2 separate regions of the Homo sapiens genome follow, and region 2 is linked to region 1. The links are contacts of gene promoters, found by promoter capture Hi-C in blood cells and fetal thymus (Javierre and others, 2016). All regions are on one chromosome and are shown on one strand. Each heading gives the region's core, a stretch centred on a gene start or on the middle of the fragment in contact. The rest is flanking DNA. Distances are from core to core; before and after follow the strand shown.

Evidence for each region. The method cuts DNA at HindIII sites, captures the fragments that hold promoters and counts their contacts. A CHiCAGO score of 5 or more calls a contact.
Region 2: a contact is called between a fragment that was not itself captured here and the fragment with the promoter of MAGI3 in region 1, in 2 of 17 cell types (fetal thymus and naive CD4 T cells). The highest score is 6.3, in fetal thymus.

What each region holds. Positions count from the first base shown.
Region 1 is chr1:113,388,712-113,392,914 of GRCh38, forward strand. MAGI3 (membrane associated guanylate kinase, WW and PDZ domain containing 3) reads left to right here and starts at 1,804. Exons shown (of 21, transcript NM_001142782.2): 1 at 1,804-2,638. The coding sequence starts at 2,323. RefSeq lists silencers at 136-380, 1,370-1,419, 1,450-1,809, 2,220-2,349, 2,410-2,569 and enhancers at 2,250-2,749, 2,800-2,849. The HindIII fragment of the contact is 2,966 bases long and covers 332-3,297 here.
Region 2 is chr1:113,946,012-113,950,214 of GRCh38, forward strand. The region is part of intron 2 of HIPK1 (homeodomain interacting protein kinase 1); the gene reads left to right. Among named protein-coding and RNA genes, the nearest start is that of HIPK1-AS1, 19 kb to the left of the region's middle. The HindIII fragment of the contact is 2,475 bases long and covers 933-3,407 here.

The DNA of each region.
Region 1 (4,203 bases), core at 554-3,053:
TGGTTGGACTTGGCCATTGACAAGCACCAGCAGGAGACTGGAGGAGGGTGGTGAGTTAGATATAAATCCCCCAGGTCCTTTGCTGGGTGTTTACTTAGGCTGACTGCATCCGTTGACTGAAGGTCACAGACTCCTGTCAGGTGGCCCTGTGTGTCTGGATTTTTCGGTAACTGTTCTTTCCCGATTGGACAGATCTAGGAGCTGTAGCCTCAGGGTTCCAGCTTCTCTTGTGGTTTCCCACACCCTGCCCACATCTTTGCAAAATGCCATTTGTTTCCTGCCAGGACCCTGACTGATACAATGGTGTCAACGAAATCACTGCAGCTATTGAAGCTTGGTCCAGTCTATCTGAGGTGTGGAGTTTTATAAGGGCTTTCACCTACTATTAAAGGGAGACAGGAGACTACACAAATAAATGTCATGCTGCAAAAGTGAAACAAAGATCATAGCTCAGAGAAAACACTTTCCACTTGAGGGCAAGAAATCAGAGAAAGCTACCTGGAAGAGCCGGCATTTGGGATGAGGACGGATAGGAGTTTTAAAAGAGATGAGATGAAGGGCATTCCAAAGACAGGGAAGAGTGTAAGTCAAGCCGGGGAAGAGAGAAAGCTCAAGTGAAATTTCTGAAAAATTAGAGCTGGAAGGGATCTACGATATCTTTTATTTAATGTTCGTTCTCCCTTCACCTCCTTTAACTGAGATTTGGCCAAGGTCAAACAGCAAGTAAGTAGCATGTCAGGACTCCAACCAGATCTGCTGGCTACCAGGTTAGTTCTTAATAATCCACCTTCTACCTCCACCCCACTCCCTCACCTCAGGCAGTCTGCTTACTTCTCAGTCTCTCCCACTAGACTGTAACCTCCTCAATAGCGGGGCTTCTGTTTTCTTCACCCTTGAATCCCAGTACCTAGCACAATATCTAACACAAAATCGTCATCGTCATCAGCAGCAGCAGCAGCAGCTACCAAACTTTAAGAGGCAACCACCCACTGTCAGGCACTATGCAGTTATTTTGTACATCTTCTGTAATCTTCACTTTTCACTGAGGACGCTGCGGCTCAGAGAGGTTGTCTAATTTGTCTTAGGTCATACAGCAGTGCCGGACTCTATTTTATAATATCTTTCATCAACCGGACTCCGAAGCCCTGCCTCAATGGGCGTTCAGTAACATCTGTTGAATGAACGAATGAACAAGCAATATCCACTCAATGCAAACTATCGGCTGTAACAGGCCACCCTAAAGGCCCCGGAACCTCGGCCGGCTCAGGACTCCGCACGTTGTCTTCCAATCTAAGCACACCGGCCCCTCTCTGCGCCCCGCACAGGCTCAGAGGCTCCGCCCGCGTCTCCGCCTAACTCGCCGGCCACGCCCCCACTTCGGGGAGCTCGGTCCCTCTCGGATTCGAGTTTTCCTCGGCTCCAGCCGCCGCGCAGAGGGCCTCTCCCGGCCCTGCGACCTACAGCCCCTTCCACTCCCCTGCCCCTCCTCTGCGCCCTCCCTCACTCTCCAAACTTCTTTTTTCCACCCTCTCTAAACTTCAGTCATTCTAGTGCCCGCCTCCTCCACTCGCACCGACCAACCAGTGGTCCCCATTCTCGTTGGCGGTCCGCCTCCTGCCCGCCGGGGGCCAATCCCTGGCGCGAGAGTCCAGGGCCGGGGCTCGTTCCCAAGCGCCCAGCCTGTGACGGCAGCGCGCCGGGCGCCGCGCGGCGGGAGGGGGCGGGGCTCTGGATGAGGGATGGGCGAGGGCCGGGGGAAGGGAAAAGGGAGGAGGAGGAGGTTGCGGCTGGTTTGAAAGCGGCAGTTTCCTGGCAGCTTGGGCAGGCGTTGGTCTCCGCGCTACAGCTCCGCAGCGGCCACGATCGATCCCGCGACGGGTCTACGCGCGCTTCTGCGCGCCCCCCACGGATTTTTCCCGTTCCCGGCTCTTCCCCCTTCACCTCCCCGCCCCCCCGCCTCAGCCTTTCCCGCCGCTCGGGCGCTGAGCCCAGGGACCAGCCGGCGGCAGTGACCCCGCCCGAAGCCCCTTCTGGAACCTCCTGGGGACAATTCCCTTTTCCTTTCTTCAGCCTAACCCGCGGTGGCCCTCGCGGAGTCCGGTCAGCCCCGGGGAGCGCAGCCGGGAGGGGCGTCCAAGGGGCGTCTCGCGTCTGGGAACGGCCGGGCCCCCAGCGGGCTGTGGTCGCGGGGTGGGGGCCGGAGCGGCGAGGCCCCCCTTACCGGGCTGCGCGGGCCGCCCAGGGCCCCCGGGCTGAGACGGGGCCGGAGCGGCGCCCCGGCCGCCCGCGCGGGGTCTCCCCCATGGTGCAGCGGGGTTCGGGATGTCGAAGACGCTGAAGAAGAAGAAGCACTGGCTCAGCAAGGTGCAGGAGTGCGCCGTGTCCTGGGCCGGGCCCCCGGGCGACTTCGGCGCGGAGATCCGCGGTGGCGCGGAGCGTGGCGAGTTCCCCTACCTGGGGCGGCTCCGCGAGGAGCCCGGCGGGGGCACCTGCTGCGTCGTCTCGGGCAAGGCGCCCAGCCCAGGCGATGTGCTGCTGGAGGTAAACGGGACGCCTGTCAGCGGGCTCACCAACCGGGACACCCTGGCTGTCATCCGCCACTTCCGCGAGCCCATCCGTCTCAAGACTGTGAAACCAGGTACGCCGGCCCTGCGTATCTGTCTCGGGGTGTTGGGGAGAGGGGCTTCAGGGTGGGCGTCCTGGGAGCGGCGGCACCTCCCCACCGCGTATTGTCCCGGGTAATCTTAGACCTCTAGGGTGTGCCAGACTCCTTGACGAGGGGGAGGGGTGGCGTTGGTGAGTCCCATTTTGCCGAAGGGAAAACTGAGCTCTGGCTTGGCGCGGTTGCTCTGCTAGCTGTGCTAGCTGTCACAGAATTGCGACTAGAAGCTGGGTTTCCTACATTTGTAGCTCCATCTCCCCCCGCAGACAAGAGTTTTTGACTAGAGAAGGCCAGCCTTTTCCTGTGTTGTGCAAAAAGGCCCTTAGGATTGTAACATTTTCTTTGGAACGATCTTACGCATCTTCTAACAGGGAAAAAGGGACTTTACTATAGAGGCACTTGGTGCCAAGGTTACCACCTGGTGTACCTGGAAGGGCTTAGCTGCTTCAGTGTTTCTTGCACTCTAGCAGACATCTCAGAGCTGACAGCCTAACTCTGTCAGTCCAGGTGGTTCAGGTGTCTGAGTACCGATGACGGTACAATATGTGATATGTGGCAGACTGGTGTGTTCTTGCAGGGAGCTGTTGAATAGAGTCTGGGTTTTGCAGGAAGACCTAGGTGCCTAGCGGAGTGAAAGCTTCTGTAACGCTTTTGATTTTACAGAATTTTGTTGAAGTGGTAGGTTAAAGGAGCCTCTGTTGCCCTGGTATCTTTTATGCTAGTAAAAATTGCTGCAAAGCACGTTATGTTTATGGCATACTCGTCAGTTTCAAAGCATTGATCAGAGACAGCATACAGTGAGATCTGATAGTATGTAGTAGTTCTTATGAATTTGTTATAGACAGCATTGTTGGTTTTGTTTCAGCATAGATAGAATGTGGTTCTGTCGTCTTAGATGTTTGTGGGAGAGAGAATTGTGATTGTAACATTATTAGAAACCAAACTGTTTTTCCTTAATGTGCTCTGCTGAGTATACGGTGCATCAAAATATAATGGGCTGGTTAATTGTTACCTGGGCTAGGTAGCAGTCCATCCCTTGATGGCAAAATGCTAGAAAATTCTGGATAAAAATTTAATATGTTATCTCCTTCTCATTTCTTTCTCAGCAGCTCGCTTTGGAAATATTAATATATCTTTAATAGTCCTTGAGCTTAATGGGGCTTGATGGTTTGTGGTGCAGTTTACATATGTCTGTGTATTGTGGATATGTATACACACAGACTCACATGCTCCTAAGGTCATAATTAAGATTTTCTTTCTATAGCGTATTCCATCGTATTCATTTTAAGTGTATGGGTTTATGTGGTGAGGTTTTCTTTTTATTGTTGTTAATTTTTTAAAACTTTGGCAGACTTTAAACAGCTTTTTCTGTATAGTTTTGAGAATTTGTAAATTTTTTTCTTAACTCTAACTTTTACAGCCATGTGTGAAAGGCAGAGGAAAGACTTTTGGGGCTGTAATTCAGCTAGTCAGGCACTGTCTGTAATATGCAAAAGGCTATATAGACAGCATTTACTAGTCTAGCTGCCAAATCTTAGTTC
Region 2 (4,203 bases), core at 920-3,419, 560 kb after region 1:
TTTTACTTGAGGTAAGGTAAATAAACTCTTAGAGCCTTTGTTTTCTGGTTTTATGCTGCCCTAGGCAACCTTGGCTAACTTTAAGAATGTCATCTCCATTTATTTATTTATGCCTTGGGAGATTTAGGTTCCAACTACATTTGCTTTTTAATGCTCTCCTTTGAGCAGTCTCACCACCAGCCACACCAACATAACATATATATAACATACTCTACAGGTGCACTGAAGAATTCAGCGCAGCATCCCATTTTGAGTCCTCAGGAGGGACTAGGCAGACCACAGCTGAAGGAAGAGGGCTGATCAGCTCTTCCTTTCTGTCTTGACTCTGTGCCTGCAGGTGTTCTTTAACTATTTGTTTGCCCTGTCAAAGACAAAGTGCATTCTCTTGTGATAACAGAGTAGTTTTTAAATTGAAAAAGGGAGAGCAATAGGAGATAAAAATTATTTGGCTTTGTTATAATTGGGGCATGTTAATACAAAATAAAATGAATTATTTGGCTGCTTAGCTTTCTGTAATGTGTAATTCATTTGAATAATTTTCAGTGTTAGGTTGCTGATCTTTGTATTTTTTATCCTTTTAATTTAAGCTGTCAATTGATTCATTTTGGTTTTGTTTTTTATAGAAACTAAGGTTTTCAAATCTTCAAAGTTACCCTTCGACAAAGCTTTCTTTAAATTCACTGCAATATAGTTGTTGACTATAATTTTAAGTGGAGCTAAGTTTGCCTCTTAAAAACAGGAGTTCATTCTGTGTATTACTGAGTAATTACTCTGTATACTGAAGTTCAGTGCCCAGGGCTTGACAGTGTTTAGGATTTAACATGAGTGTTCTGTTGTGTCACAGTAATACTTGATAATGAGCCTAAGGCAGATGGAACAGCAGCTCAGGCATTCCTTCTTTATCACTAGTTTTACCCGCAGTGGTCCTCTTAAGCTTCTTTGATGTTGCTTTGTTGCCATATTAGAGTCCATTAAGTCCTCACCCTTCTGTCTTTCAAAAAACCTCTGTGAAATCTGTTTGGCTGGTGAAGCATTTTGACTCCAAAGCTAGTCCTTCTCTTACCCACCTTTTTAGTTTACCTTGCTTTGTCTTTCTGATAATATGCCAGTATTATCAGCTCACATAAATTTGCCAACTTGCTGTGTCCATTGGCCCTGGGCATGGCTAAATGATTCAGGCAGTGGAAATAATATACTTTACTCTCTGGCTCACTGTAAATGTGCACAGACTCCAAGCAAAGCTCCTGTCTTTCGGGCTTGAGTTTTAGAGACAAAGGTTTGCCATGCTTACAGGCTGAATGTTTTTCCCTACTGAACAAACTAGCCAGCCTTTATTTCAAGCTGAATCACTTTGTTACTTACGGAAGGAAAAGGTCTAGAGAAGGAAAACGTATCTTCCATTTATCCTAGACAAACAAATAATCTAATTTCCTCTGGCAGTCAAAATATAGTTTCACCTAAGCCACTGATGCAGGAAGTTAGGTTTTATGTAACCTCTCTAATTGGTAAGTAAGTAGGTTTGATGTCTCTGAGATAGGAAGAAAGAAACGAAAATGTTCATGAAAATAATCAGAGTGATTTGTGTTAAGTGATCCTAACCTTAGCTTGCTCTGGGTGCCAGTGAAATTAACCTCAACAATGTTGGTTGGAAGAATTTTTCAACTTAAAGAAGTTTGAAGTTGGGGAATCAAAAGGCAGGGATTGTTGTTTCTATCACTTAGCTGTAATAACCAGAGCCTGTTTAGTATTTGTTTTTTAAGGATGGGATGTGTCTTCAAAGAGGAGACTTGCCATGTTCAAAGCACAATTAATGCCATTTTCCTACTGAAGTGAACACTGCCAGTTTTTAACAGTTTCTTTCACTTTCCTGTGCTTCTGTAGATAACCTTTTTTACTGCCCAGTTGTTGGAATGTTACAGCTGGAAAGGGACCTAGAAGAGTAATTATCTAACTCTGTTTCCTTATTACACAAATGAGGTAGAACCAGAGTTTTACGTGTCTGTAGAGTTTATATTGAGGGATTAAGAAATAAGGAGGCCAAGAGGAAAGATGTAATGAAAATAATTCTAATAATTATAATCTGGATTCACAGTTTAAAGTATTCAGTCCTTAGAGATAAACCTGCTCTAGTGATGCCTTACTGTTCAGTAAAGTAGAAAATAACTTGTCTTTTTGCTTCGTAGAGTTTGGGTAAGTCTAACATTTATAGGCCCAAATAATACAAAACCCTCAGTGAACTAAGCAGCCTTACTGCTTTTTTGTTTGTTTTTGAGACAGGGTCTCAGGCTGGAGTGCAGTGGCGCAATCATGGCTCACTGCAGCCTTGACCTCCTGGGCTCAAGTGATCCTTCCACCTCAGCTTCCTGAGTAGCTAGAACTGCAGGCATGCACCACCATACCTGGCTAATTTTTTAAATTTTTTTGGTAGAGATTGGGTCTTGCTGTGTTGCCTAGGCTGGTCTCAAACTCCTGCTCAAGTGATCCTCCTGCCTTGGCTTCCCAAAGTGCTGGGATTATAGGTGTGAACCGCCGTTTCTGGCCGTATTTTTTTTTTTTTTAAACTGCTTTCCTTTTTTTGTTTTTCCTTTTGCTATTTGCCTTTTTATAAGGTAGATACGGTAGAGTTGCTGTTTTGACTGAGCTTTTGCTGGAAGTCCTTAGCTGCTTTTGTCACTCCAAAAGCAGGGTGAGACCAAATGAAAAAACTTTCAGCTAATCTTCAGTTTTTTTTTTTAATTAAATGGGACTTGGGGGCTGTGGAAGTGATATTTTCCTTAATTTCCCAGAAAACTTTAAGCTCGAGACAGTTATCATATATTATTGCTACCTTTTTTATTTTTTTCTGAGACGGAGTTTCGCTCTTACGCCCAGTCTGGAGTGAATTGACGTAATCTTGGCTCACTGCAACCTCTGCCCCCCGGGTTCAAGCGATTCTCCTGCCTCAGCCTCTGGAGTAGTTGGGATTACAGGCGCCTGCCACCATGCCCAGCTAATTTTTGTATTTTTAGTAGAGACTGGGTTTCATCATGTTGGCCAGGCTGGACTTGAACTCCTGACCTCAGGCCATCCACGTGCCTTGGCCACCCACAGTGCTAGGATTATAGGCGTGAGCCACCGCGCCTGGCCTGTTATCGCTACCTTTTAAAGAAGAAAGTTATAGAGTGGCCTGGCCATTCTCTGTGACCTACCTTTTGGACTTTAAAATGTCTTTCTAGTATGGTAGGAATAGCAAAATCAATATGCTGCCCTCCAATTGATGCTTTGGAATGTTCTAAACCCAGTTTTTATTTTGGCTCATTGCCAGTTGTGCTCCCCCTGCCAGCTATTTTTGGCATTGTCATGAACTTGGAAATTAATGATTCTGCTCACTAGGAGTAGAAAATTTTGTTCCTTTTCAATTTTAGAAAAGCTTTTATGTTGTTTCTGGGTAGTCTTACTAGCTTATTAATGCGCCTGTCAAACTTGTGCAGTGTTGAAAACATGCCATTATGGTTGAGATTTCACTGAACTCTGAAATTCCATCAGTAATATGTGCCTCTAGCCACCTGCAACAGGAATATCACTTTTGAGGGTTACTTCTTTTCTTTTCTTTTTTTTTTTTTTTTGAGACAGAGTCTTACTCTGTCACCCAGGCTGGAGTGCAGTGGCACTGTGTCAGCTCACTGCAACCTCCGTCTCCTGGGTTCAAGCAATTCTCCTGCCTCAGCCTCCTGAGTAGCTGGGATTACAGGTGCCCGCCACCACACCTGGCTGATTTTTTATATTTTTAGTAGAGATGGGGTTTCACCATGTTGGCCAGGCTGGTCTCAAACTCCTGACTTCAGGTGATCCAGCCTCCTCGGCCTCCCAAAGTGCTTGTATTACAGGCATGAGCCACCGCACCCGGCCAGTTATTTCTTTGGTAAACAAAACCACAGTTCAAATTAAATACTACAAAAACTGATGATATTGGTGGTTCCACCCATAGCTGTTAAAAAGTGTAAGCCCGAAGAGGCCTGGGTCGACTGCTATTTGTATTTAAGGATCAGAAAAGCTTTCAGGCCCTGTGGAGTCCCCAGATTTACTGTTTTCTAAGGGCCACTATTTATGTATAAATACTAGGGGAGGATTTTTTTTTTCTTCTATGCCTAGTTTGCTTAGATGGGGAGGGATATTCTTATTTAGGGAAATTATATTCTCCTTGCTTAATCCTTGCCTTCCCTC